7 separate regions of the Homo sapiens genome follow, and all the other regions are linked to region 4. Evidence: promoter capture Hi-C in 16 types of primary human blood cells and fetal thymus (Javierre and others, 2016). All regions are on one chromosome and are shown on one strand. The core of a region is centred on a gene start or on the middle of the fragment in contact, and the rest is flanking DNA. Distances in the headings are between cores, read along the strand shown. Region 1 overlaps SKAP1 (src kinase associated phosphoprotein 1). Region 2 overlaps SKAP1 (src kinase associated phosphoprotein 1). Region 3 overlaps SKAP1 (src kinase associated phosphoprotein 1). Region 4 holds the start of HOXB5 (homeobox B5). Region 5 overlaps SKAP1 (src kinase associated phosphoprotein 1). Region 6 holds the start of CBX1 (chromobox 1). Region 7 overlaps SKAP1 (src kinase associated phosphoprotein 1).

Region 1 (4,112 bases), core at 606-3,105, 460 kb before region 4:
ACTGATGCCATTCTTTACCCCCAGCAGTGAAGACTGCTCCTATTTCAGGCCAGAAGATGGAGCTAGTGACAACATGCTGGTCTTGGGGGCCCTCCATCAGAATCTTAATTCTAACCAAAACCCACTCTGCACCAAAGTGGCTCCCACTATTACTCCACCCAAACCAGGCACCCACCCCCACTATTTTGAAACACAATGTGGTTCTTGCTAATACAACACAAACCTATTCTTTTTCTTTTTTTGAGACAGGATCTTGCTCTTTCACCCAGGCTGGCGTGCAGTGGTGCAGTCATGGCTCACTGTAATCTCAACCTCCTGGGCTCAAGCATTCCTCCCACCTTAGCCTCCCAAGTAGCTGGGCCTACAGACGTGCACCACCACACGTGGCTAATTTTTTAAAAAAAATTTTGTAGAGACCTTCTGCCCAGGCTGGTCTCAAACTCCTGATCTCAAGTGATCCTCCTGCCTTGGCCTCCTGAAGTGTTGGGATTACAGGTGTGAGCCACTGTGCCTGGCCCTGCAAACCATATTCTCTATTACTTAAAAGTTAATTTGATTATGTTCCATAGTTCCAATATTTCATATGTTCCAATATAAGGAATCCTCATATTGGATTCCTAATCTTGGTCAGTCATATTGCAATATGTGGGGATTTTGGGGAAATGGTGCCCTGGGTTTGAGAGCTGGGGATAAACCTAGATCCATCCCTGTGGCAAAAATTGCTAGTTTTATCCCAATATCCATTCTTCCCTTTGTATTTAATCATGAATCTCCCAATTCTAAGCTGGACACAGGGCTATAAGCTTTCTTTACAGCTTGCTGTGTCCATATATTCCAACTTCTGACCAATGGAATGTGAAAGGAAGTGTGTGCGCAACATCTGTGAAGTACCCTTAAAGGAAGAGGGTATGCTTTTCTCTCTCTTTTTTTTTTTTCTCAAGACAGTCTTGCTCTGTTGCCCAGGCTGGAGTGCAATGGCGTGATCTTGGCTCACTGCAACCTATGCCTCCCGGGTTCAAGCGATTCTCCTGCCTCAGCCTCCTGAGTAGCTAGGATTATAGGTGCACACCACCATGCCTGGCTAATTTTTTGTATTTTTAATAGAGATGGGATTTCACCATGTTGGCCAGGCTGGTCTTGAACTCCTGACCTCATGATCCGCCCGCCTCGGACTCCCAAAGTGCTGGGATTACAGGCGTGAGCCCCTGCGCCCGGCCTGACCTTCTCCTTTTATCTTTCCTGCTGTGCTGTGTAGGTTGCAGACAGGATGGCTGGAGATTGAGCATCTGTCTTGGCCTTGAGGTAACCTTGAGAATGTTGGGCACACAGAGAAGAACAAAAAGAAAAGGTACCTGGGACTGGATACCTTGGACCACTTACCTCTAGATTTTTGCAGAAGAGAAAAATACATTTCTGTGTTAATTTTTTTTTTTTTTTTTGAGACGGAGTCTCACTCTGTTGCCCAGGCTGGAGTCCAGTGGTGTGATCTCGGCTCACTGCAACCTCCGCTTCCCGGGTTCAAGCGATTCTCCCCAGTAGCTGGGATTACAGGCGCCCACCACCACACCTGACTAATTTTTTTTTTTTGTATATTTAGTAGAGATGAGGTTTCACTATGTTGGTAAAGCTGGTCTCGAACTCCTGACCTCAGGTGATCTGCCCACCTCGGCCTCCTAAAGTGCTGGGATTACAGGTGTGAGCCACTGTGCCTGGCTTTCTGTGTTAATTAAGTCATTTTTAGTTTAGATTTTATGTTGCTATTAGTTGAACCTTATCCTAAGTGACACTGTCCCCAAATTTAAGAAAAAAACAATTCCAGAGGCATTTTCTTTCCATCAGTGGTGAATCACTAGCATTAGTATGAGAAATGAAGAAAAGCTACTTCACTGGCAACTCTCATCTTTCAGAGAAACAAAGTAGTGGCCCACAAGTTCCACTCAACTATTAGGCAGTTCATTGGCCATGGTTCTGATACCTGGGTTTCATCTTTCTTCCACTTCAAAGGCAGTGGTGAGATACTCCTTTGGAACAATCCCAACGAGGCTGTTCAGTTCTCCCACCCACCAGCCATACATGTTATACTCCTGAAAAGTGAAAAGAGGATAGCGTCAGTTAGAATTTGTTCATGCTTCTGCTCATTTATTCTAGTGATTGCATGGGAGATTCTGTTTGGTGGTTTCATTGTTGCCATTATCACTGTGAACTGTTAACTTCCCTGATGGGATTATTAAATTTAAAAAAATCATCTAGAGGAAGAGAGCAAGCACTTTCCTTTTGCCATCTTCCTGTCTACATTGTAAAATTAGCACATTTGATGCCCTTGCTGAACCTGAAGAGCATTTTTTTTTAAACCAAGCCGAATGGTATGGCTTCTTAGAGAAAGTTGGGCACACATTAAATTGCCAGAACACTACAGATATTCAAGGGGTCAAGTCATAGTTCAAATCAATAATATTTATCAAGCATCTTCTATGTGCAAAGTGCTGTTTGAGTTCCCATGAGGTATGTAATGATGAATCAGAAGATTGCTTGCTCCTTGGGAGCTTACAGCAGAGTAATGGGCTTTGGAGTCAGACAGACTGAGATCTAATCCTCGCTTGGTCATTTAGTAGTCACATGACCTTAGGTTCTCCTAGCTTTAGCTTCTTTGTGAGAGTAGGGATAATATCTCCCTTCTATCTTGTGGGGATGTAAATTGTATCACTGAAGTAAAAACAACTGAAAGTGTTTGATACATAGTAGATGCTCTAAACATTAGATTCTTTCCCTAGAACAGGTGAGAGGTGACAGGTACATTAATAATGACAGGCTAGTCACAGAGAGGAACAAACAAGAAAGAGGATGAGAGGGTTTTAAAGAGAGTTTAAGGGGTAGTCACAGAGTGAGGATGCAGCTCCTTGAATACAGAAAAGCTTCTCAAAAGCACAGCAGATGTTGAAGAGTATGGGGCTATTTCTTTTTTTTTTTTTGAGACGGAGTCTCGCACTGTCGCCCAGGCTGGAGTGCAGTGGCAAGATCTCAGCTCACTGCAACCTCCGGCTCCCACGTTCAAGCAATTCTCCTGTCTCAACCTCCTGAGTAGCTGGGATTACAGGTGCGTGCCATCACACCCGGCTATTTTTTTTTTTTTTTTTTAGACAGAGTCTGGCTCTGTCTCCCAGGCTGGAGTGCAGTGGCGCAATCTCGGCTCACTGCAACCTCCACCTCCCAGGTTCAAGCGATTCTCCTGCCTCAGCCTCCCGATTAGCTGGGATTACAGGCGCGCACCACCACGCCCGGCTAATTTTTCTATTTTTAGTAGAGATGGGGTTTCACCATGTTGGCCTTGATGGTCTTGAACTTCTGACCCCAGATGATCCACCCGCCTCAGCCTCCCAAAGTGCTGGGATTACAAGCGTGAGCCACTGCGCCTGGCCACAACTGGCTAATTTTTTATATTGTTGGTAGAGATGGGGTTTCATCATGTTGGCCAGGCTGGTCTCAAACTCCTGACCTCAAGTGATCCACCAGCCTCGGCCTTGCTAAGTGCTGGGATTACAGGCGTGAGCCACTGTGCCCACTCTGAGTATGGGGCTATTTCTGATAGCACCAGAAAATGTTTTCTTTCTTTTGAAAGAAGTAAAATTAGAATGAAAAAAAAATTTTTTTTTTTTGAGACAGAGTCTCACTCTGTTGCCCAGGCTGGAATGCAGTGGCACAATCTTGGGTCACTGCAACCTCCACCACCTGGGTTCAAATGATTTTCCTGCCTCAGCCTCCTGAGTAGCTGGGACTACAGGCTTGCGCCCAGCTAATTTTTGTATTTTTAGTAAAGACGGTGTTTCACCCTGTTGGCCAGGGTGGTCTCGAATTCCCGACTTCGTGATCTGCTCACCTCGGCCTCTCAGAGTGCTGGGATTACAGGTGTGAGCCACTGTGCCTGGCCAAAATAAATTTTTTTTTTTTTGAGATGGAGTCTCGCTCTTTTGCCCGGTCTGGAGTGCAGTGGTGAGATCTCAGCTCACTGCAACTTCTGCCTCCTGGGTTCAAGCGATTCTTCTGCTTCAGCCTCCTGAGTAGCTGGGACTACAGGTGTGCACCACCACGCCCAGCTAATTTTTTGTATTTTTAGT
Region 2 (4,024 bases), core at 1,396-3,895, 360 kb before region 4:
CTGACTTCCAGGACTGGCATGATATCTCAAGTTTTACTTCAGTTTCTGTGAATGGAGAGGGAACATGGTATAAAAAAAGAGCTCTAGGGCTTGGGAAAAATTAAGAGTTTCCAGAAAGACTATTTCCTAAACTGCCCCTGTTTATTCTTGTTCTGTGCGCTAGTCCTAGCACTGACACAAAGTAGTTCTGCAATGATGAGCAAGTCATTTGATTTATCTGCAGTTTGGTCTGCAGAATGGGTAGGCTAGACTACATGAGTTCATGGCTCCTTCTCTGTCCTAAGATTCTTGGATCTTTCTTGGTTTCTGTCTGGGCACCCCATCACTCAAGCTCCAGCTCAGTACAGAAAGGGACTGAAAAATGTTTTAAAACCTAAATTTTATGCATCATCATAGCCACTAATTAATGCCAATTGAGCACTAACACCTTGTGTTAAGAATTTTAGAATTCTTTACCTCTAGTGGAAAATAAAAGAATTTTAGAATTTTATAGAATGCAGAGAGGATTGGCATTTTGGAATTTTTTATCAAGGGGAGATTCCATAACATAGTCTCAAAGAGAAGCTCATTTTTATTTTTATTGTGGGGTCTGAAAGAAATGAAGTTGACTGGCTAGTAGAGAGTGGTGGTGAAGAACATGGACTCTGCAGCCAGAGAGCCTGCTCTGAATCCAGGTTCCAACCCTTACCAGCTGTGAGACTTCAGCGAACTGATCAATTTCTCTGTGTTTCAGTTTTATCTTATAAGGTTGTTACGAGGATAAAATGAATTACTGCTAAATAGTGCTTAGAACTGTGTCTGGAACACAATATGCACTATGTAAATGTTGGTTAAATAAATAAAAATATTGGAGCTACAAAGTCTCTCATTCATTTCAAGGTGTATTTCTGTGTATATCCTGATCACTAATAAGTAGCAGAGATATTATGACATATATTTAATATCTACAATTAAGTTGCAGGCTTATGCATAGAGAAACACTGATGTAATTCAGTATTGTTAAGATTGCAGGAAACATAATTATATAAGATGTGGGGGTGGGGTAGGGTGTGTGTGAGAGAGAGAGAGAGAAAGACAAAGAGAGATAGAGAGATAGAGAGATTGAATGAGCATGAGAAATCTTTCTAATACACCAATAAAAAGTCTGTCTCTAAAATACTTAATTTTTTCACACCGTGTATTTGTGTCTCACTAAAAAACGCAATATAGAACATCTGTATTGTTAATAAACCTCCCATAGAGAGCACTGACACTTGAATAGCCTGAAATGTTTTCTGACATCTGACCAGAGCTAATCATAGATGCTTCTATAGGTTGGTTTCTGCTTTTGGAGCATTATTCAAATATTGCTGCAGTATTGTGTTAAATTCTCAAATCATACCCAATAGATAGCAAAGGTGGGCCTTGAATAATTTAAGCCTTGTATTAGGTTTTGTGTTAGAACTGAGGAAATAGCCTGGTGAGCATTTATTAGACTCCACTTATGTATCAGTTGCTGTTCTAAGTGCTTTACATGTATCAACTCATTCAGGTTTCAAAACAACCTTATGATGTAGGCGTTTTCCCATTTTATGAATGAAGAAACTGAGGGATACAGAGTTTAAGTAATTTGCTCAAACTATACAGCTAGTGACTGCCAGAGCTCAGTTAAGCCTTTTTGTTTAGTGCCTGGGGTTTTGGGCCAGGTCCTAGGCATTTTGGAAAACTGAAGAGAGAACTAGGCACCACAGAGCTGGGCTAAAGGAGCTGACACTGTGGTGGGATTCCTAATAGAACCCTGTGGTTTGCTGGCACAGGGCCCTCTACAGGCAGGTGGGGTAAGAGCTGGGGCAGATAAGGAAAGACACCACAGTTTAACATCTGATGCTCAGCTCAGAGAGGAGACCTCTCTGCCTCTTCTCAGCACTGCCTTCAGGTCTGGAGTGAGTCTCTGTACTCTTGGTCGTGCATCCCTGAGGGTGAGGTCTGGATCCTACTCTCTTTACACCCAACACTTAGCACCATGTCTGACACATTGTAGGCACCCAAAAGACCTGCGGTTAAGTATGAATCTCTTTTTTCAACTTAGGGTTCTGAAGCTTTAATATGAAAATTTTATTTATTTTTGTTTTTATTACGTAGACTTGGAAATAAAGCAAGAGAATGATGATCATCAACTACCTAGAAGCATCAGTTAAGTTAGCAGTACTAAACCTTTTTTTGTCATCATAAAACATTTGCGGGCCTGGCGTGGTGGCTCACACCTGTAATCCCAGCATTTTGGGAGGACGAGGTGGGCAGATCGCCTGAGGTCAGGAGTTTGTGACTAGCCTGGCCAAGATGGTTAAACCTCATCTCTACTAAAAATACAAAAATTAGCTGGGCGTTGTGGTGGGTGACTGTAATCTCAGCTACTCGGGAGGCTGAGGCAGGAGAATTGCTTAAACCCAGGAGGCAGAGGTTGCAGTGAGCTGAGATCATGCCACTGCACTCCAGCCTGGGTGACAGAGTGAGACTCTGTCTCAAAAATAAATAAATAAATAAAATATACATAAAAAATAAATAAAATATTTGCAGTTTTTTTAAACTCACAGGTTCAACTCATAACTTTTTTCTCCTTAATCTTGAGTTTATATATTTTGGCTGGTGCTAAACACCAATGTCACCCTCTCCAATTATAACAGCAAGAAGACATTTTAACCTAAACAGTGTTCTTCAGATTAATGAAATCTAATAGCAACTCTTTCACCTCTGGGCTATTCCAAACCAAGTGGTAATGACCAAAGACCATTCCTCATCTTGTGCTTGGATAGGAAACCCTGAGAAATGAGTCTTGGGCTTGGTCCAGTTTTTAGTGGAAAGTGCACACATCACAAAACTTAGTTTCAAAATTCGCCTCCATGCTGACAGTCTCTGTTAGAAGGGCAGAGCATCCAGGCTCAGACCTTGAACTGAAAAATCCTTCTCACTTTTCAACAATGCCCCTTTGGTTAGAATGCAGGTCAGGCATACTTGTCCAGCCATGGCCATTACTGGGCTGTCTGCTCTAGGGCTAAAAAAAGATGTTGATTTCCTGTAATATCTGCCCTGCAATTTTTACAGGAACAATGTTCATTAAATTAAAAATAATAAACCAGGCAATGTTCTTGTGTAACCTGTTTCTTAGAACTTGCTGTCCACATGACAGCCTTCCAGGATGTCTTTTCTTGTCCATACTAGGTTAAAGCATCAACAAAGCTTTGTTTTGTGTTAAACTCAAAGGTGTCTTTCTGCAGATTCTTCCAGAACTGCTTGATGGGGGAGAGGGAAGATCATGCCTGGCAAAAAGTGATTTACACTAACATATACACAAAGAAGATAATCATCTTGTTTTATGTGCCGGTTGCAGTGGCTCACACTTGTAATCCTAGCACTTTAGGAGGCTGAGGTGGGCAGATCGCTTGAGGCCAGGAGTGTGAGACCAGCCTGGGCAACATGGCAAAACCCTGTCTTTACAAAAAATACAAAAAATTAGCCAGGTGTGGTGGTGTGTGCCTGTAGTCTCATCTACTTGGGAGGCTGAGGTGGGAGGATCCCCTGAGCCTGGGGAGATAGAGGCTACGGTGAGCCACGATCATGCCACTGCACTGCAGCTTGGGTGACAGAGTGAGACCCTGTCTCAAAAAAAATTGTTTTATGAGTGAGTAAGCATATATAATTATAAGTAAGATCCTAAATCTTTATTAGACAGACATGTAATGAAATGGAATAGAATAGAGGCATAATGACATATTAACCTGATTTTTGCATAAAAGCACAGTTGCATAAAAAAGATATTGTATAGTCCTTTATGATAATGAAATGTATTACATATATTATCTCATGTAATCTGCACAGTTTAGGAGGTAGATGTGATACAGATGATGAAGAAAGAAGGCTGTGGGCATTTAATTCAGGGATAGGTTAAAGGATAGATGCAGGCAGTGTTTACATCTCTCTGTCCCAGTCTGTTTAAACCATAGTATTTTCAAGTTAGTGTACACAGTGGTTTACAAATCAGCTGCAT
Region 3 (3,717 bases), core at 629-3,128, 380 kb before region 4:
AATAGATACTTTTCCCCTCAGAAGTCTAAAACATCTTCTGAATCAGGCCCGGTTGTTTTGTTGTTGTTGTTTTATAAGTAGAATTGGTGCTGCTTAAATGGTGTGTGTTTAAGTTAACTGGAAAAGGGCCCCTCTTCCAAAATATCTTTTCAACTGACTTCTGTAATTCCTGAAATTCCATCATTTGGGGCCCATTCCCTTAGATTAAAGCATTATTCCCTGTTGAACTACAAATGCCTCTGGGAGAGGTAGCACATTAATCGAGATATTCTCATCCACAGTGTGGTAACAAGCTAGTACATCAGAAATCACTGGGAGGAGGAGGCACAGAGCTCCAGCTCTCCTAGGGATAAGGCACAGCTGTCTGTACCTATGCGGTAGACCACTGAGTAGAGGTAGATAACTGACAGATGTCAGGTAGCGACGCTTATCCATGAGGTCACGTGTGTGTGGCTGGCACTGTTATACGGAGCCATTATCAGTCATCGACACCTTGGAGCCGTGGTTCGTAACTCTGGCTGCACATCGGAATCACCTGTCTACTTTTTAAAAAAGTGTAGATACCTGAACTGCACCCCAGATATACTGATTCAGGATTATCTGGAGTGGGGCTGAGGCATGTTTATTTTTACAAAGTTCTATGAGTAGTTCTGATGCTCACCTAGGGCTAAGAACCACAGCCTCAGAGTAGATTTGTATGTTAGGTCCTTATCATCCTGATGGCTTGCTGGAGGGCCTTGGTGAGGTGGGCCCAGGGAGGCCCCCAGGTGGAGGGCCTGGACAGTGAGTATCAGAACAAGCACGAGGGGCAAGAGAAGTGCTATAGGCACCAAAGTAACCAAAGGTGACCTGGAAAAGAGCCAAGACAACTTGTACTCACAGCAATTTTAACAAACTACCCAGGATCATTATTACCAAGACTAGAATAAACTACATTAATCAACCAATAAAAGTTAGGACTTCTGCATAACACCATTTAAGAAATACTAAAGAAATTATTATCTGTGCTAATATAACTCTGGCTTTAATCGTTTCCATGGCTGAGGAGGCCACTTGTAGTCATTTCATCACTGTGGTATCTTTCCCATTCTATTCCTCATAGTCTCCTCCCGAGTGTTACCCTGCTCGGTTTGTCCTCGGCTACCCTCCAAAGGAAGTCCTTACCAGATGTATCATTAGGATTAGTTTAGCCAGTGTGACGGAAAGCCCCAAATAATAGAGGCCTTAACAAAATAGAAGGTAATTTGTCCCTCATGTATAAAAAGACTGGGGGGAGGCACCCCAGGAATGGGAGGGCACTTCATGCTCCTCTTTTTTTTCCTGAAAAAGAGTTTTGCATCTTGGTGATCACATTTATTAGAAGGGTTGGAGAAAAATAAAAATGCCATTTAGCTTAAGAAGTTATGAATTATCTGGGCTGGGTGCAGTGGCTCATGCTTGTAATCCCAGCACTTTGGAGGGCCAAGGTGGGAGGATGGCTTAAGCCCAGGAGTTTGAGACCAGGCTGGGCAGCACAGTGAGACCCCACCTCTATTAAAAAAAATTTTTTTTTAATAGAAGTTATGAGTTGTCTGCAAATCAATTCATTTCAGGAGTGGGAGAATTTCTTAATATCAAAATGTTTGCTGGTTTCTCTTTTGAATGTCCTGAACATTTAAAGAGGTACCTGTACAAAATCTCCTATTTTCCATATGGGATAAATTGTTTCAGCCAACTCTCAACGGAGGGACAACCAGGACAAAACATCTTCTGGGAAAAACAGCATTCGAATATTCTGTTTCGCTGATTTATATATCTCTTATATATGATGGCTTCTTCCTCAATTTCTGTAGTAGTCACAGTTTCTTCCACATCTCCCAATAACATATTTAAATGTAGATCATAAGCATGTAATCTGCCTAGAAGCTCCTGGTAATCTCTCATTTATCCATAAATTCATTTATCCAGGCTGAGCCTGATGAAATCAAGGGGCTCCTCTATGGTGTTGGTAGTTTGTTGCTGGTTTATGTCGTCCACCATGTTTCAAACCCTTCGCCCTTTCCTCTTCAGGCTCTTTCTATCTTTATAAAGTATGTCATTTGTTCGTCATGGTCCAAACTGGCTCCAGTTCCAGCCAGCAGGAAGGAGGAAAGGGGCAACACAGACAGCACCACCATCCCTCTACCTGCTTAAGGACACTTGTGTGTGGCCCTAAAAAGTTGACACATTACTTACACATTCCACTAACCAGAAGTTAAATCACGTGGTCAAATCTAGTTGCCGTGGAGGCAGGGAGTTGTTCTGGGCAGCCACGAACCCAGAACTGGGGGCTAGCTAGCAGTCTCAGCTACACCAGTAATACTGCACACAGCTAAATAAGTATTGGCAGTCACCTTATGAACCTAGAATATCCCACTGGAAAGAAAGAAAATGAGTATGGTAAGAGAAGACTGCTTAATTCCAGGTGTTGGGTAATTCGTGGCGATTAGAGGAAAGTGTTTTCCACTAATGAAGAGTGAGAATTTGTTCAAAGTAGTTATCTGTGGTCCAAGAATCATAACAGAGGCCTCAAATAAATGAAGTGTTGGTTTATCTTTTGAAAGGTTATGTTTCCTCTTGGAATTATGTGATTCAAAAGTCCACCTCTTGCCTAAGGAAGGACTGGAATACAGGCCTTCTTGTCCAAGTTCCTGAAGTTAACTTCTATAACACTGTCAGGAGCAGAACAACATATAAGACCACTGGAGTGTGCGCTAGCTGTTAGTGCTCACAAAAAGTAGGAGAAATGTTAGTACTAATTTCACACCCAAATTTGCTTAGATGTGCTTAAAAAGATTCTGATCAATGAAAAGGTATACTTTTCCCTAACTCTAGGGCTCCAAGTGCTTGAGGGTTACAGATAATGCTGTTCTAGATGCATGTGGTATAAAATACAAATAATCTGTTTAAGTCTATGGCAATGTTTGGATTGCTTCACTGACTAGGATGATTTTAAAAGTAAAGCACTGTATCTTTTCCAATCTGATCTCCCTAAATCATGCAATAGACTTGTTTCCTTTCTTTGTGTTTCTCATTTGTCCAGCTCATTGAATCGTATGGCTATTTACCTCAGTTAGATAGAGAAACATGGTGCTAAGGAGACGAAGGTGACCTGGTGCTAAGGAGACAAGGCTTTATCCCAAGTGGGTTGATTGGCGTGCAGAATTCAGTTCTGTTCCATGTCTAGTTGACTGCTTCTCTACCCCTGGCTAGTTATTCTGAGGGGATGCATGCTTCTTAAAATGGGGGGCTGAGTAGGAAAGAGTGGGTGCCTCAGCAGAATTAAGCTGTACTGTTGGCCGGGCTCAGTGGCTCATGCCTGTAATCCCAGCACTTTGGGAGGCTGAGGCGTGTGGATCACCTGAGGTCAGGAGCTCGAGACCAGCCTGACAAACATGGAGAAACCCCATCTCTACTAAATATACAAAAATTAGCCGGGTGTGGTGGCAGGTGCCTTTAATTTCAGCTACTTGGGAGGCTGAGGTAGGAGAATCGCTTGAACCCGTGCTTGAACACCACGGAGGTTGCAGTGAGCCGAGATCACACCATTGCACTCCAGCCTGGGCAACAAGAGCAAAACTCTGTCTCAAAAAAAAAAAAAAAAAAAGCTGTACTGTTGTAAACGCCCTGCAAAGGCCCTTATACAGAGTTGATGGGCCAGAAGTACCTCTATGCAAAGAGGAACATAAGTAGTTTGGA
Region 4 (4,086 bases), core at 1-2,500:
CGGGGGAGCAGGACCCAGGCGTCCCGGCACCCAGCTCACCACAGCTCCAATCCTCTCTACTCCAGATGCCCACATTCAAGCTCGATTTCTGCACCCCTTTCTACTGCATCCCCCACTTCTGCAGGCAGCCAGTGCGCCCGGCTTTGTCTCTTGCTCGCTCCTAGTGCCTCACCCTTGGCTGGGCTCAGGCGGCCGCTCGCCCCGGGAGGGAGGAGAGCGGTTGCACTTTTGCCCCGGAAAGCTCCTTTTACTGTTCACCCCTTCTTTGCTAGCGACAGTCTCAAAATTTCAGGGGTAAGCAGGACCCTTCCCCACATTATATGAACCCCATCCTTTATCCTAAAGCTGGTTCAGCTGCGCTAATAAAAACCTAAGCCGAAGCTGGAAACAAATTATTAAAAATACCCCCCTCTTAACAGAGAGACCCTTTTTGGCTCTGTCTACGAAGCTATGAGGCCCCTCTTAGATACTTCTCCCCCTTAGAAAAATGAATCTATATTTAGGGTAAAGCCAAGCTCTCCTTGTCCCCCCGATCCCACCCCAAAACGCAGAGAAGGAAAGCCGAGAAGACAAAAAAGAGAGAGAGAATTACCATGGCTGATGTGAAGCTTCCTCATCCAGGGGAATATTTGCGGAGTCTGCCCCTCGGGCGCGGCTGTGGAGGTGGCCATGGGCTCTGGCTGCGCCCGAGCTAGGCTGGGGCTGCTTAGCTGGCTTGCCGCTTCCTCAGGCTCCGAGGACGCGCTGGCCTCGTCTATTTCGGTGAAATTGGCGCTGGAGCTGGCTGAGGTCGCCTGGTCGGAGGGGGACGAAGCAGAGGGCTTGGCGCCGTGGCTGTCGCCGTTGGTGCAGGGCAGGGACTCGGGCGAGGACAGGGAGCAGCTCGAAGCCGCTTGCCTGAAGCGGGGCTCCTGGGCGGGCGCGGGGAAGGCGCGCGAGCTCTCGCCCACCGCCCCAAAGTGGCTGGAGGAGGCCGAGGAGCGGTTGACGCTGAGGTCCATCCCATTGTAATTGTAGCCGTAAGAGCCGGTGTGCATGGCAGCGGGATCCCTGTAAGAGCCGCTCAGAGAGCTGCCACTGCCATAATTTAGCAACTGATAGTCCGGGCCATTTGGATAACGCCCCGAGAAGGAGTTTACAAAGTACGAGCTCATTTGGGTGATTTTGGAGGGCTTGATTTGTGGATCGTGGTCGTTATAACCCTGTGCTTCACGATTTATGATGTATTAATGAATTATAGCGATGCACTGTACTTCGTTTTGCTATGTATGCGGCCAAATATGGGGGGGGGGTTGGAAGGGGGGTGGGGGGCGTTAGGGAATCACGTGCTTTTGTTGACCAGTCGTAAATTCTCGCTGATGACCTCAAGAGGTAATTCATGCTCTATGGTTACAAATAATGACGATCCGAGAATCGTTAGGGCCGATTCAATGCGAGCCTCCGAGAGAGGGGGAAAAAAGGAGAAGGGGGAGAAACAGAGAGAAGGTTGGCTTTGGCCTCTGAGCAGAGCGCGCCACCTCCCGGCGACCGACGGGAGCGCGGGCGTGAGACCGCCATGGCGGCGGGCGGCTGCCTCCCTGCTGGCTCCCTGCAGGCTCCCTGCAGTCGCCGGGAGAGAAAGAAACCCGGCCAAGGCTCAGCCACAGGGTTGAGCCTTTTAGAGCAGGGGTTGGGCTTTTTACCCACTTTCTTGTGGGTGGGGTTAGCCTCTCTATTTGGTTCTTTCTCCCTACATCATCATTGTCGTTATTATTTTAACTTTGGATGAGAAGATCAAAGATAGAGTTGCTTTTCCCTTTCTTGGGCTTTGCAAGTCTCCGAATTGGAGGCGGAAATGGGGGAAGGGTTGGAAGTTGTGTGTGAAAAACAATTATTGCAACGGGTTTTCCCCAGGAGCTTAGTCCGGCCTGCATCCTGGTGGAACTGCTGTTACCGGTCCACAGCGCCCAGGCCGAGCCGGCAGGGCTGGGCGGGAGGCTTGAAAAAGAAGGAGAAGCGTTCACTTCTCCTGGGCCACTTGGAAGTTCGAAATCCCCTTCCGGACCTCCTTGGTGGTCCTTAGCCCAGGCGTGGGGAGTGACAGAGCAGGACAGGGACCCCAGAAACCGAGCACAGCTGGGGCTAAGCGGCCTAGTTGCCGAAAAGACTGCAGCGGCCACCGCGTCTGCTGCTTAGTTTGAGTAGTAACATGTGTCTGAGAGTTTGTAAAGCGGGATCCCTTCCCCTCCTCCTCGGCTATTGCATTCGGAGGCCCCACTACAGGTCCCTCACTCGCAGCTAGGCAGTTTGAGAATTTGCCTGGTGGCAGCCGCCTTCCCGGAAAAGGGGTTCCAAGGACCCGCATGCTTTGCTGAGCACGCTGGGCGGCCAGAGACCGCCGCAGCTGGTCTCCTATTAGGAGGGGACTATTTTCTTTAAAAATAAGAAAGGAAGCGAGAGGGCGGAGGAATAAAGGAAAACAGTGACCGCAGCTTGCCTTCTGGGTGCCGGTGCAAGCAGAGAGAGAATGAGCCATTCTGGGTTGAGAGGATGACACTAAAAGCCCCATCACCTGGCCTCCTGCCCTGGGGTCTCCAAGGAGCAAGGGAAAGTTGTGGCCTTCGGCCTGTGCCTGGCTGGTGGCTTTACATTCCCCTACTTGAGGCTGATCTCCTACTTGAGGCTGATCTGCTACTTGAGGTGGGAAGGGGCACCTGGAGCCTTCAGCTGCAGGGTGAGAGATACCCAGTGGCCCCATTTTTCAGTCTCCAGAGCCACAGGCCAGGAGCGGAGGGCCAAGGCTGGCGAAAAAACCTGGCCATGTGGACGGGCCAAAGACCAGGGGTCGCTGCGAAGGTGAGGACAGAAAAGCGCTGCAGAGGCCCCCAGACTATGGCTCCGTCTCCGCCAGAGAGCTTTAGGGGCCTCAGTGGCTCCCTTAGTGCTGTGTATACACGAGGAAAGGCTAGAGAATGAGAGGGACACAGCACCTCTCCATCCCCCAAGTCTGCACGGGGAGAAGCGGCTGTGAGCCTCAGCACCAGGGAAACGCAGCGCTGGGGCCTGGGCAGGACTGATCGCTCCAGCCTTTATCTCAGCTGTAACTTCCCAGTCGAACAGGGCTCGCTTCGGCGGGCCAGGGCTCTCGCCTTTGCTGAAGAATTCTGGCTCAGGAAAGATGGAGAGGCTGGGGGTTGAGGAGAGAGGAAAAAATGGCAGGGGAGGATTGGAGGTGACCGAGCGTCGAGTTTTCACATCTTTATTATTGTTGTTGTTGTTGTTATTATTATTATTATTATCATCATCATCATCATCATCATCATCGAAGTATTTCACGTCCAGAGCTAAGACAAGACTACAAACACAACACATAGAAAATTAATAAAATAGAACTTTGTTTTCTTCTGAGGCTCCTCTTCTTACTTCTAGGTAGTATGTGCTCCTTCCAGTGGCTTTGGGGAGGGGGTGGGAGAGACGACAGGTCTGGGATCAGGGAGTCTTCAAGGCCCCCGCTGAGGGGACAGCGAATCTACCATTGAACCGTGCACGGGGGACATGGACAAAATGAGACGCGACAGGGACAAGAGCATTTTGCTCTGCTTCCAGGAAACATCAAGTGAGTCCGCTCCTCAGTTCTCACCAGGAAGCCTGATCAGGCTGAGGCGAGTTCCTCGGGAAGGAAGGGCGCGCGGGATGCTGGGTGGGCTCGAGTAGTGAGGCCTCAGAGCACCCGCCGGGAGCTGTGCGGGCGGGGGCGTCCAGGAGAGCGCTGGGCCCCGCCTGTCTGCGCCGGAGAGCAGGTCTCCTGGCTCCCCCACCCGAGAGCCTTCCTTCCCGGGTCTCTCTGACGCCCTCGGCTCCCCACAGGCCTTTCCCCTCGCGTCCTCCCTCCCTTTCCAGCACCTTCACTCGGCCTGTTTTTCTTCCTCCTCCTCGGCACTGAGCTGAGACGCGCTGAGCAGTTTGCTCTCCTTTTTCCACTTCATGCGTCGGTTCTGGAACCATATCTTGATCTGCCTCTCCGTCAGGCACAGGGCGTGCGCGATCTCGATGCGCCGCCGCCGCGTCAGGTAGCGATTGTAGTGAAACTCCTTCTCCAGCTCCAGC
Region 5 (3,834 bases), core at 635-3,134, 400 kb before region 4:
TGTGTGCACCTGTTGTCTCAGCTCTTTGACAGGCTGAAGTGGGAGCATTGCTTGAGCCCAGGATTGGAGGCTGCAGTGAGCTATGATGGCGCTACTGTATTCCAGCCTTGGTAATAGAGGGAGATCCTATCTTAAAACAAAAAAAGAAAGAAAGAAAAAAAAAAGGCCGGGTGTGGTGGCTCATGCCTGTAATCCCAGTACTTTGGGAGGCTGAGGCGGGCAGATCACTTGAGGCCAGGAATTTAAGACCAGCCTGGCCAACATGATGAAATCCTGTCTCTGCTAAAAATATGAAAAATTAGCTGGGCATGGTGGCACGCACCTGTAGTCCCAGTTACTCAGGAGGCTGAGACAGCAGAATCGCTTGAACCAGGAGGTGGAGGTTGCAGTGTGCCAGGTTCACACCCACTGCACTACAGAGTGAGACTCTGTCTCAAACAACAACAACAACAATAACAAAAACAAAAAACAAAAGAGTTGGGTTTATCTGAAATTTGAAAGTAGACTGCTTCACATATGATACAAAAACTACACAGTGGGAGCACACTGAGAGATGAGGACAAGAACACCATTCATGGATTCAACAAGTTTTATCAAGCACCTGTCACATACCAGGCATTGGGGATACAGAGGTGAGCAGGACATAACCATCCCTATCCTGATGAAGCTTACAGTCTGCTCAAGGCTGGGACATCTCTCTTTAGCCTACACGAAAACACCAGACTCCTTTCCTTTCCTTGCTTTGCTTTTGCCTTGTATCCGCCTAGCACAGTACCGGGCACAGAGAAGGCATCCAATGTGTTAGCCTTCTTTTTCCTCACTTCCCTTCCCTTCCTGGAATGTTCTGAAATCTGTGGGTCTGACCAATACCTTTGCTTTTCTTCTCCAAGTATCCTTGCTTGATTACGTTATCAAGTTCTTGAGCTCCTTTTACGATGTCTTCCATTCCTAAAAGGACCAATGGCAAAATGCTTTATTGAAACCTGGCAAAATTTTCATTTATTTAGGCTACTTTAGGTAATTCACATTAATAACAGAGTACAAAAAGGGCAATTGCTTAAACACAGTACAAAATAAAACAATTTCTGTATGATTGGAGGGAAAAGTAAATTTTCTTGCTTTTTCTTTTTTTTTTTTTGAGACAGAGTCTTGGTCTGTCACCCAGGCTGGAGTATACAATGGCGCTATCTCGGCTCACTGCAACCTCTGCCTCCCAGGTTCGAGCCATTCTCCTGTCTCAGCCTCCCAGGTAGCTGAGACTACAGGCATGTGCCACCACACCTGGCTAATGTTTTTTGTATTTTTAGTAGAGATGGGGTTTCACCATGCTGGCCAGGCTGGTCTCGAACTCCTGACCTCAAGTGATCCACCCGCCTCGGCCTCCCAAAATGCTGGGATTACAGACGTGAGCCACCACACCCAGCCAATTTTCTTTCTTTTCAATTATATCTAATGCTAAAATTGCTTAAAACTATCTAAATATACACTAATTTGTAGTAAGGTGAGGTAGCGTAAATATGCACTGATGGGCAGGAAAAGGACTCCAGAAAATTAAGAATTTTTTTTTTTTTTTTGAGACAGTCTGTCTCTGTTGCCCAGGCTGGAGTGCAGTGGCGCGATCTTGGCTCACTGCAAGCTCCATCTCCCGGGCTCATGCCATTCTCCTGCCTCAGCCTCCCAAGTAGGTGAGACTACAGGCGACCACCACCACGCCCGGCTAATTTTTTTTTGTTGTATTTTTAGTAGATATGGGGTTTCACCGTGTTAGCCAGGATGGTCTCGATCTCCTGACCTCGTGATCCGTCCACGTTGGCCTCCCAAAGTGCTGGGATTACAGGCGTGAGCCACTGCGCCCAGCCAAACTTAAGAATTTTTTTGTGGATATAAGTTCCAAGTTGGATAAACCTCACTGAGATAATCAAAAGTCAAATGAATAGCTACCAGCACAGACAGCTTTAATGAGTAATAGATTCCACCATAAACGTAGTCACCTAAGAGGGAGCAATAAATACACACTCAATTTTTTTTCTCTTAACAAACAGATAGCCATCTCTGTGAACATAAATTTTTTTAAGTTCATAGAAGAAGGGCTATGCAAGCTGAACTTAGCAATAACTGTCAAATCCTGATTTCTTAAAAGTCTGAGAAAGAGGCTGGGCCCAGTGGCTCATGCCTGTAATCCCAGCACTTTGTGGGGCTGAGGCAGGCAAATCACGAGGTCAGGAGTTTGAGACCAGCCTGGCCAACATGGTGAAACCTCATCTCTACTAAAGATACAAAAAATTAGCCGGGCATGGTGGCACACACCTGTAATCCCAGCTACTCGGGAGGATGAGGCACAAGAATCTCTTGAATGCGGGAGGCGGAGGTTGCAGTGAGCCGAGATCGTGCCATTTCACTCCAGCATGGGCGACAGGATGAGACTTCGTCTCAAAACAAAACAAACAAAAAAAAGTATGCGAAAGAATCTAAGAACTGTAAAAGGCTTCACAAATAATACCCTGAAACTTACATCAGCCTTTAATTGTATGCTGCTAACATTCTTGGCTTTCAATTAGCCTTGTTAGGTACAAATTTATTGAGAAGTCAAGATCCTAATCCATCTTCCTCCACTGGGGTTTATACTTACTTCACAGAAGGGAGGGACAAAGGATGGAGACAAAGAAGGAATTTACTTCTCAAAAAATAAAATGAAAGAAGAATGAAAAAAAAAGCCTCTTTTAAGGACACACTCCACATTTCTTAATTAGGCAAAATGAAGGTAATTGGGCTAGCGGTATTTTAACATTTATTCTTTTTAGTCCCAGAACTCAAATCTCTTTTGGATTGTCTTAAATAATTTATGAAGCAAACCAAATACAAAACAAAGTAAGGCATAACTACATATGAATCAACTGGGCCACCTATAGAGTATCTTGAGAGTTATGGTTGAAATAACTTTTTTTCAAACAATTGTTTTTTGAACATTTCCTACAATAACATTTATTCAATGGTGGCTATGAGCTGGCACTTTGCTCAGTGCTTTTCCTACTTTTTGTTTTAAAATAACATCTACGACAATTTAAAATGCAATCAAAATTACATTTTGCTTTAAAGCTGTTTCAAGCTTAGTTATAAAAAGGTAGATCAGAAGAGCCTCTTTTTCTGTTTTTAAGTGTGTCTATGTGCCTGATTTTTTATCCAATTGGTCCTTATTGTTAACCTCCTTGTTCATGGACTACTTTTATTTGTGTGTTTCACAGTTAGCAAACTATGTGGTTGCCATAAATCCTTTTAATCAATCTCAGGGTGCACGCATGAGATGAACAGCAGCAAAGGAAAGTTCATTTTTCTAGGGTTCTTTCATTTCTCCTACCCCTCTGAAAACACCCTCCAAGGAAACAGTAGCAGATTCTACTGAGGGTGAGGCATTGAGTGGGGTGAGGACCAGTTACAGAAGAGAAGGCTCTCTGAAGTGCTGTCAAAAAATTGCTCCTGGGGAGGCCAGGTGTGGTGGCACAAACCTGTAGTCCCAGCTACTTGGAGGCTGAGGTAGGAGGATCTCTTGAGTCCAGGAGTTCAAGGCTGCAGTGAGCTGTGATTGAACCACTTCACAACAGCCTGGGGACAGAGCGAGACTCTGCCTCTTAAAAAAAAAAATTGCTCCTGGAGGCCTAAAAATTAAATGAAAGACATAGGGAGATGAGGAAAACACGATCCCATAAGCTGGGAGTTTCCATCTCTTCTTTCCACAGGTTTTTTTTTTCTTTTCTTTTTAAAGGTCTTGTTAAACTTAGAGACACAGCTCCTTGTCAAAGATGCCAAGAGTCTGAATCATAAAAGACATGTTAAACG
Region 6 (3,897 bases), core at 864-3,363, 490 kb before region 4:
AAGTGCTGGGATGACAGGCTTGAGCCACTGCGCCCGACCCTACTATTTATTTTTTTAATGAGAAACAATTTAGGATACAGCAGCCATTGAAGAAAAATATCACCACAGGGAAAACCGTAAACGACTTCAGGTCCTCCACTCCCGTGAAGCTTCATTAAGGTGCCACCGGTTTCAATACAAGTGCTTTTCAATCACACCACTTTCATATAAAAGTCTATAAGGCACCTAGGGAGGAACACCGGCATTAATTTCCCCATTGTATTCCTGAATCTATTCCAAAGCCTTGGACCTTTCACAATCTTTCCAAACTGCTGATGTGACTCTTAACACAATTGAGGAGGCTACTTTACCCTGGGCTAGGGGTTCTAGTATATAACTGATTATAGCTGAACTTTTTGTAAATTCCACCTCAATTGCGTTAAACCAACACGTCTAAATGTAACACCAATTTATGAAAAACCCTCATTTGAAACTTTGAAAAAGAGGTAAAATATGGCCAGGCGCAGTGGCTCACGCCTATAATCCCAGCACTTTGGGAGGCCGACGCGGGAGGATCACGAGGTCAGGAGTTCGAGACCAGCGTGACCAGTACGGTGAAACCCCGTCTCTACTAAAAATACAAAAATTAGCCGGGCGTGGTGGCGTGTGCCTGTAATCCCAGCTAGTCGGGAGGCTGAGGCAAGAGAATCGCATGAATCCGGGAGGTGGAGGTTGCAGTGAGCCAAGATCGCACCACTGCACTCCAGCCTGGGCAACAGAGGAAGACTCTTCTCAAAAAAAAAAAAAAAAAGAGGTAAAATATAGCTCACTCTATTCAAATTTTCCAACAAGGAAAAGCTGGCTAAAAACAGAAGGGCCCACGAAACAAATATTACCTCACAATCTCACATAATTTTCCTATGTCTCCCAATTTCTCGCACCTCACACGATCTCACAATCTCTCACTACCTCACGCCGTTCCTCAACTATTAACTCATCTACATATTTTTACAATTTCATCACCTTTGTGAGACCAGTTACGATCCCACACAAAAACGTACGGAACTAATTTTGAATCAAAGCAAGAACTGCACTTGGACTTTTTTAACTCCCCAAAGGAATCATGGAGTGAAGGTAGTAGGAAACCTGGAAAACTGAAAAAAGCGTATTCCATCCTTTCTTCGCACATTATTCTTACAGCCTCCCCACTGTAAGGACCCATCAGGATGCAAGGGCGGCCTGCTTTCCCCTTTTTTCTTACATACCTTATAGAAATATTCTCGGGATCTCCGCCCTACTTATCCTAACAGCTCCTCCCCTTCCAGAGTCAGGCCCAGCAAACGCCTGCCCCTCCCCCTCCGTGTCCCCTTTCCCAATTTATTCCACACATCTCCTCCTCCAATCAGCACACCTTGTGCGGCCCTGGGCCCTCTTCCAATTCACTCGACGTTACTCCTCCGTAGTCCTGCAAAGCCAGGTTCCTCTGGCAGTCCCAGCCGGACCCGGCGTCTTCCGAATACAGTTACAAACCTCGGGTTGTGCGGTCGTATGCGCCTCCTCACGCCTATCCAAGCCTCAAGCCTGTCCCCTTCCGCCCTATCCCGCAGCCGCCCAGCCAAGCAACATTGTTCCAGACCACCCGGGCCCCGAAGAGCGGCCCCCAAGTGCTCGGCCCACCCCCAAGCACTCAGTCTCTGGCTCAGGATTCGCGCCCCGCCCTCTCCATCCTTCACGCAGCTGGCACCGACGCCTCAGCGACAGGCGAAGAGCTCAGCGCGGGAAGCGGAGAAGCAGGACGCTGGACCCGGGCGCGCTCCCCGCTCCTAACCTCCGCCTCGAAAGCGCGTTCCCTCACGCAGGGCTCCCGCCGCCGCCGCCGCCGCGCCCCCTCCCCCAGCTCTCCCGCCTCCAGCGGGCTCCTCACCTCAGAGCAGCGCCCAAGAGCCCGAGAGGAATCGGTGCTGCGCTGCTGGCGCGTCGCGTCGGGTCGCCTGGGGGAGTGGCGCCCAGGAAGGCAGCAAGCCGGGTGGCCGCAGTGGCGTCCCTCACTGAAGCGGCGTACCGCAGGCCCCGGCCAACGGCCCTCCCCTCAGCCGAACAAAAGAGCCTCGCAGTCTGCGCTGCCCGCCGCTCGCACCGCGCAGGCGCAACGACCCGCCGCACGGCACCATGGGCCTCGGGGGTCTGTCCAAGACTACAAGGCCCGAAGCGCCGCGCGCCGCGCACGCACAGTAGGCGAGGGTGGTAGGGACTTATAGTTTTTAAACTGTAACGGTGGAGAGATTGCAGCGTAGAGCGTTGTAACCTAGAATATTAGAACATATGGGCCAGGGGCAGTCGCTCACGCCTGTCATCCCAGCACTTTGGGAGGCCGAGGCGGGTGGATCACCTGAGGTCAGGGGTTCGAGACCAGTCTTACCAACAAGGTGAAACCCTGTCTCTACTAAAAATGCAAAAATTAGCCGAGCGTGGTGGCAGGTGCCTGTAGTCCCAGCTACTCAGGAGGCTGAGACAAGAATTGCTTGAACTTGGGAGGCGGAGCTTGCAGTGAGCCGAGATCCAGCCACTGCGATCCAGCCTGGGCGATGGAGCGAGACTCCATCTCAAAAAAAAAAAAAAAAAAAAATTAGAACATATGATTTTTATAAGCGAGCCCCCTGATGCTTGGCCCCCAAAAAATCAACCACTTCTGGACAGTTCTGTAATTCACATCCTCAAAATTTTTGAATCTTAGATTCTTCACCAGAACTTTATCATATCGCCGCTGCCTCAAATTTCCAATGATTTCTTAGTCCTCAATCTCTGCCTCCTCAAATCTCTGTAAAATTCCTACTCACGCCGGCACGGTGGCTCAAGCCTATAATCCCAACACTTGGGGAGGCGGAGGTGGGTGGATCACTTGAGGTCAGGGTTTCAAGACCAGCCTGGCCAACATGGTGAAACCCCATCTCTACTAAAATACAAAAATTAGCTGGGCGTCGTGGCGGGCGCCTGTAGTGCCAGCTACTCGGGAGGCTGAGGGAGGAGAATCGCTTGAACCCAGGAGGTGGAGGTTACAGTGAGCCGAGATCGCGCCATTGCACTCCAGCCTGGGCAACAAGAGCGAAACTTCGTCTAAAAAAAAAAATACTGTTCAGTGTTAAGATTACTTCCCCTTTGAGGTCTTCCCTGATTCCCTAGAGTAGGTTAGGTCCCCCCATAGGCCTCTCATAGCTTCCTGAATTTCCCCCTTTTCACTGGCTGCGCCACAAAAATGTCCTCTTTTTCATTGTAAGTTGTGCTCACCTTTTTCAGTGTCATTAATCTCCGTCAGCACCTTTCACCCAATCATCCCAAGGAAACACACAATTAGGAAAAAAACATGTTTTTAAGCCACAATATAACTAAAGTTTTATTTTTTTATTTTAAAGTATCCTTCTAATCAGGAGGAAGAGGGAAACTCTATTGCACTCTACCCCAAAAGGCAAGAGTTTGCATTTATAAGACAGTTTTGCTGATGCAGGCACTGTTCAGGGCAGGAGTTTGCATTTATAAGACAGTTTTGCTGATGCAGGCACTGTTCACGGCTCTGGAGAACTGTCATGTAAGAAAAACCCAGCCCAGCAATATCATAATAGAGTTTAGTTAAAAGGGCTTCAAGAAAGCACAGAGAAGATGAGAGGTGAAGCCAGCTGGACTTCCTGGGTCGAGTGGGGACTTGGAGAACTTTTCTGTCTTACAAGAGGATTGTGAAATGCACCAATCAGCGCTCTATACCTAGCAAGGGGATTGTAAAATATACCAATCAGCACTCTGTAAAAACACACCAATCAGCCCTCTGTAGCTAGCAAGAGGATTGTAAAATGCACCAATCAGCACTCTGCAAAATGCACCAATCAGCGCTCTGTAAAATGCAGGAATCTAAAAGTAGCCAATCAC
Region 7 (4,103 bases), core at 801-3,300, 430 kb before region 4:
TTTTAGTAGAGACGGGGTTTCTCCATGTTGGTCATGCTGGTCTTGAACTCCCGACCTCAGGTGATCCGCCCACCTCGGTCTCCTAAAGTGTTGGGATTACAGGCATGAACCACTGTGCCCGGCCGACTTTGATTTCTGTAGAGCAGAGAGAGGAACTGAGAGCCCAAGGGTGAGGCTTGCCTCTATGGGCTGGATTTAGATTCCTTTAGGCTTACACTACTCTGGCAGCCGTCTGAAATCAGAAATGGTGCAGCATTCTGACCATTTAATTAATTCAAAACATCCTAATTCTCATTTTAAGGACATTATTCCATCTAATTATTTTTTTTCCAGTCTGTCCATTTGGAATGAAAAACAAAAGAATAAAGCTTAATGCCAGCATTTCTCAATGTCTCTCCGAAAAACATAACTCTGCACTAAATAAAGCCTGGTAATTCAAAAGCAAAGCACTAATATATTCAGCATAAAACAGACAGAGGACCTAGAGCAATAATGACACCACTAATAACTAAAACAGTTATAACAATTAACAACAATTACAATGATAGAGAAGCTAATGGGTATGATCACTGCATTTAAATTGCTAGCAGAGCTGAGAAGGGCTTTTTCTAGAGAAAAAAAAGCAGCATCTTACTCTCTTTATCCTATGTAAGGGAAGCTAAACTCCAAGCAACCAAAATGTCATAAGAAGAATAGCAACAGAACAAGTTAAAAAAAAGTATTGGTTTCTTTTTTCTATTTATTGCAAAGCATTTGTCATTGCATGCCAGGTTCTTTACAACTAGTGACAGTCATTTCTCTTGTAACTGAGGCCAAGTTGGTGCTACTGATGATAGAGTCAATGGCTGAAAATTAGCCTGTGTGACGAGCAAAGTTTTAAGGTAAAAAGGACCAGGACATCTCTCTGCCTTTCTCCTTCCTTAGGGACAATAAAATCTGACTGTTCCTTCCACAGTTCAGCTTATGTTTGGGAGTCACTGGGTAGCGACAGAATTCAGGCTGTGATCAGGGAAAAGTGGCTAAAGGCAGGCCAGCATGTTATTTACATTTTCTTGATTACTAAAATGATCGTGTCAATAAGGCCTGGCATTGAGTACAACCTCTTAAGTTATGGAAAAGAGAGACAAAACATGAAGATGGATAAAGCCAGTCCTACGAGAGGATGGGATGGTAAGACTTGGACAAAAAACGCCAAAGTAGTGACCCATTGGAAGTGACTTGAAATGTTCTTTAAGCCAGGTCAGAAAGGTCTAACATGTTGAGTTCATTCAAGTAAACTCTGACAATTTTTCCTTTTTTTTTTTTCTGAAATAGGGTCTTGCTCTGTCACCCAGGCTGAAGTGCAGTGGCACAATCATAGCTCACTGCAGCCTCGAACTCCTGGGCTCAAGCTATCTTCCCCCTGCAGCCTCCTGAGTAGCTGGGACTACAGGTGCATGCCACCACACCCAGCTAATCTTTTTAATTTTTTGAAAACACAGGGTCTCACTTTGTTGCCCAGGTTGATCTCAAACTCCTGGGCTCAAGCAATTCTCCCATCTTCGCCTCCCAAAGTGCTGGAATTACAGATGTGAGTTACTGCGCCCAGCCTTGATAGTTTATTAACTATTTCAGAAGAAAGCTATGAAAATATTTGCCAAGCCCCCAATGACTGTGGCACCAGAGGAGGAAGAGCAATTGGATAATACCATTTGCTTATTTCATAGCCCTTTAATCTTGAGTTTTGAAATTACTATGATCTTAGTGGTATAAGTATGATTTGGAAGTGGGGTATACTCAGATTCTGATTTTCATGTCATTTCCTCTTTTCATTGGGCCATAATTTTAGCTGGTTAATAATCAGCTCATGTTTGGTCTTGGAAAACAGGCTTCAAAAGGTAAGAGCTGCAAACACCTCTGTGGTTTCCCTTTGTTTCTTTCATGTAGTAGTTCACTCTATTGGCGCGCACTAAAGTGAGAAGGGGGCCTCAGAGATGGAATGGTATAAGCAACCATTTTTTGGCCCTCCTAAAAGCAATCATTTGCTTATAAGACCACAATAGTGTGGTCTGTGTCTCCTTTTGGCTTAGTTTTTCCACAATTTCAGAGTTGGGGTTGGGGGCAGACTGAAGGAGGTACGGGTGGGAGGGGTCTGTTTCAGGTTTTCCTTGGTCAGGGATTTTATGTATCTAAGGATGATTTGTGCCTCCAGGGTTGCTTTTTATTTGACATAGCACATGCAAACAAATGGCCAGTAATTTCTATAAAAAACGAACACAGAGGAAGTTTTATTTTTGGTTACCTGGAGGTTACCTTTTCATGATAGGGAAAGGTGATAAGTTCTCATTACCTAAGACCCTTAATGTTAGACTACTGGGCTGATGGGTTGGAATTTAGTGAAACTCTGAGGTGTTGAAGAGTCACTCATTAAAATAACCCTGTTACTAACAGTCATGCTGTAAACTGAGCTCTTTATAGATTGAGCAATCAATACTACAAGGCTGTGATAGATTTTCTAGGTAACAGAATGAAATAAAAGAAATTACATCTTACAGGGTCATTAACACTCAATAAGGATGAACCGAATCCCTTCCCCCCTATTCTGATAAGATCTAGTTAGGCCTTCAGAATGTTAGCAATTCCATCAGAGAAAAAAGCACAGCATTCAAGGAACAGGATCCATCGAGGTTGGAGAAAAGTACTTGGATTTTAAAAGTAACTCTGCTAGCCATAGCATCTTTTGGGAAAAAAGGAAGAAGGGAAAGGTCAACTTGCTTATATATATTTTTCTCCCCAAAAGCATGTTAACACCTGAGAAAAGGCTGGGCGTGGTGGCTCATGCCTGTAATCCCAGCACTTTGGGAGGCCAAGACGGTCGGATCCCCTGAGGTCAGGAGTTCCAGACCAGCCTGGCCAGCATGGTGAAACCCTGTCTCTACTAAAAGTACAAAAATTAGCCAGGCGTGGTGGCACGTGCCTGTGATCCCAGCTACTCGGGAAGCTGAGGCAGAAGAATCACTTGAACCTGGGAGGCAGAGGTTGCAGTGAGCGGAGATAGCGCCATTGCACTCCAGCCTGGACAACAGAGCGAGACTTCATCTCAAAAAACAAACAAACAAACAAAAAAACACACACCTGAGAAAAACTAAGTAGCCCAAACTTGTGTAGCTTGTCTATGACATAGGAATTCACACTGTCCTAGAGCTCCCTGCCTTTTAAATGCCTTCACTGGGGCTGCCTGCCCTTCCCCCAGACCTCTATCTTTTATTGTTACAAAACTAAATGATGACATTTGGATTTATGTATTTTTCACCATTTCTATAGCGCCTTTGGAGAAAAGGCAGTATATAAAATCAATCGATAAATAAGTAAACACAAATAATAAAAATTCCTGCCTCAGATTCTGCAGAGAGAGCAAAAAGTCCTCCTGTTTTTTAATCACTAAGTCACCAATCATTATAACTGGTGGGAAGTGTAAACCATAGAAACATATTCAGAGCTTGCTATACTTTAACAACACTTATTTTGGAGGCAGGAAGCATGAGGAACAAAAGGTTTTTTTTTTTTTAAACCTACTTGAATTATAGCTGTAGGAACAGTTAAGAAATAAATCTCCTCTCACCTCCCAGATATAACCTTAGAGAAAGAGGTGGAAGGAGGAAATGAGATGAGGGAGGAGTCTGAAACTGGATTCTAGACTTTGCTAAAAGATCAATGCTTTCTGAATGGAGTTTAATATGAAATTGGCCATAGGAAGCTTACAGTTACTCCACCCAAGCTGTCCACATGAAGTGTTTCTTTTCTGCACTGGTGATGGAAGTTGGTTGAGAAAAGATATATGTGGAACATGGGCGGGTCAGAACAGATTTTCATTTGGAATTCTGTACAGTAAGTAGACAACAGAAGGAAATAGGTTTCAGAATGGACCTAATCACATGTGTTCACTATCATGAGGTACTTGCAGCTACACTCACATCCGTGCATCACACCCGCCTCCACTGCTTTCTTTCTCTCCTGCTTTGGCGCATGACTTCTGAGGCTGCATCTTCGTTGTCTCTTCTCTTCCCTGGGAGAAGCTGGACCCTTAGGAAGTTGGGTCCTGAACCTTTTAAGTATTCACTTTC

What was found. Contacts are between HindIII fragments. The CHiCAGO score rates a contact against its expected background, and 5 or more counts as called.
Region 1: a contact is called between a fragment that was not itself captured here and the fragment with the promoter of HOXB5 in region 4, in 2 of 17 cell types (megakaryocytes and total CD4 T cells). The highest score is 5.6, in megakaryocytes.
Region 2: a fragment that was not itself captured here is called in contact with the fragment with the promoter of HOXB5 in region 4 in 1 of 17 cell types (erythroblasts); the score reaches 5.4 in erythroblasts.
Region 3: a fragment that was not itself captured here is called in contact with the fragment with the promoter of HOXB5 in region 4 in 2 of 17 cell types (M1 macrophages and endothelial precursors); the score reaches 7.9 in M1 macrophages.
Region 5: a contact is called between a fragment that was not itself captured here and the fragment with the promoter of HOXB5 in region 4, in 1 of 17 cell types (endothelial precursors). The highest score is 5.4, in endothelial precursors.
Region 6: the fragment with the promoter of CBX1 here is called in contact with the fragment with the promoter of HOXB5 in region 4 in 10 of 17 cell types (total CD4 T cells, naive CD8 T cells, total CD8 T cells and 7 more); the score reaches 11.8 in total CD4 T cells.
Region 7: a contact is called between a fragment that was not itself captured here and the fragment with the promoter of HOXB5 in region 4, in 3 of 17 cell types (endothelial precursors, total CD8 T cells and megakaryocytes). The highest score is 5.7, in endothelial precursors.

Annotation. Positions count from the first base shown.
Region 1 is chr17:48,135,254-48,139,365 of GRCh38, forward strand. It overlaps SKAP1 (src kinase associated phosphoprotein 1), which reads right to left. Exons shown (of 13, transcript NM_003726.4): 12 at 1,976-2,084. The coding sequence ends at 1,983. Among named protein-coding and RNA genes, the nearest start is that of MIR1203, 19 kb to the right of the region's middle. The HindIII fragment of the contact is 2,109 bases long and covers 802-2,910 here.
Region 2 is chr17:48,227,118-48,231,141 of GRCh38, forward strand. All of the region lies in intron 4 of SKAP1 (src kinase associated phosphoprotein 1), which reads right to left. Among named protein-coding and RNA genes, the nearest start is that of SKAP1-AS2, 65 kb to the right of the region's middle. The HindIII fragment of the contact is 1,138 bases long and covers 2,077-3,214 here.
Region 3 is chr17:48,209,745-48,213,461 of GRCh38, forward strand. The region is part of intron 4 of SKAP1 (src kinase associated phosphoprotein 1); the gene reads right to left. It also overlaps the pseudogene LSM3P1. Among named protein-coding and RNA genes, the nearest start is that of MIR1203, 55 kb to the left of the region's middle. The HindIII fragment of the contact is 9,033 bases long and covers 1-3,717 here.
Region 4 is chr17:48,592,529-48,596,614 of GRCh38, forward strand. It overlaps HOXB5 (homeobox B5), which reads right to left and starts at 1,251. Exons shown (of 2, transcript NM_002147.4): 1 at 593-1,251. The coding sequence starts at 1,154. The region is part of intron 1 of HOXB-AS3 (HOXB cluster antisense RNA 3); the gene reads left to right. HOXB6 (homeobox B6) reads right to left here. Exons shown (of 4, transcript NM_018952.5): 4 at 3,223-4,086. The coding sequence ends at 3,885. RefSeq lists a silencer at 875-924 and enhancers at 1,181-1,688, 1,390-1,459, 1,689-2,194, 3,237-3,908, 3,966-4,086. The HindIII fragment of the contact is 5,828 bases long and covers 607-4,086 here.
Region 5 is chr17:48,188,553-48,192,386 of GRCh38, forward strand. SKAP1 (src kinase associated phosphoprotein 1) reads right to left here. Exons shown (of 13, transcript NM_003726.4): 5 at 871-948. Among named protein-coding and RNA genes, the nearest start is that of MIR1203, 34 kb to the left of the region's middle. RefSeq lists an enhancer at 3,617-3,834. The HindIII fragment of the contact is 2,439 bases long and covers 666-3,104 here.
Region 6 is chr17:48,099,365-48,103,261 of GRCh38, forward strand. CBX1 (chromobox 1) reads right to left here and starts at 2,114. Exons shown (of 5, transcript NM_001127228.2): 1 at 1,904-2,114. RefSeq lists enhancers at 1,847-2,446, 2,273-2,532 and a silencer at 1,853-1,902. The HindIII fragment of the contact is 8,551 bases long and covers 148-3,897 here.
Region 7 is chr17:48,165,576-48,169,678 of GRCh38, forward strand. All of the region lies in intron 10 of SKAP1 (src kinase associated phosphoprotein 1), which reads right to left. Among named protein-coding and RNA genes, the nearest start is that of MIR1203, 11 kb to the left of the region's middle. The HindIII fragment of the contact is 3,368 bases long and covers 367-3,734 here.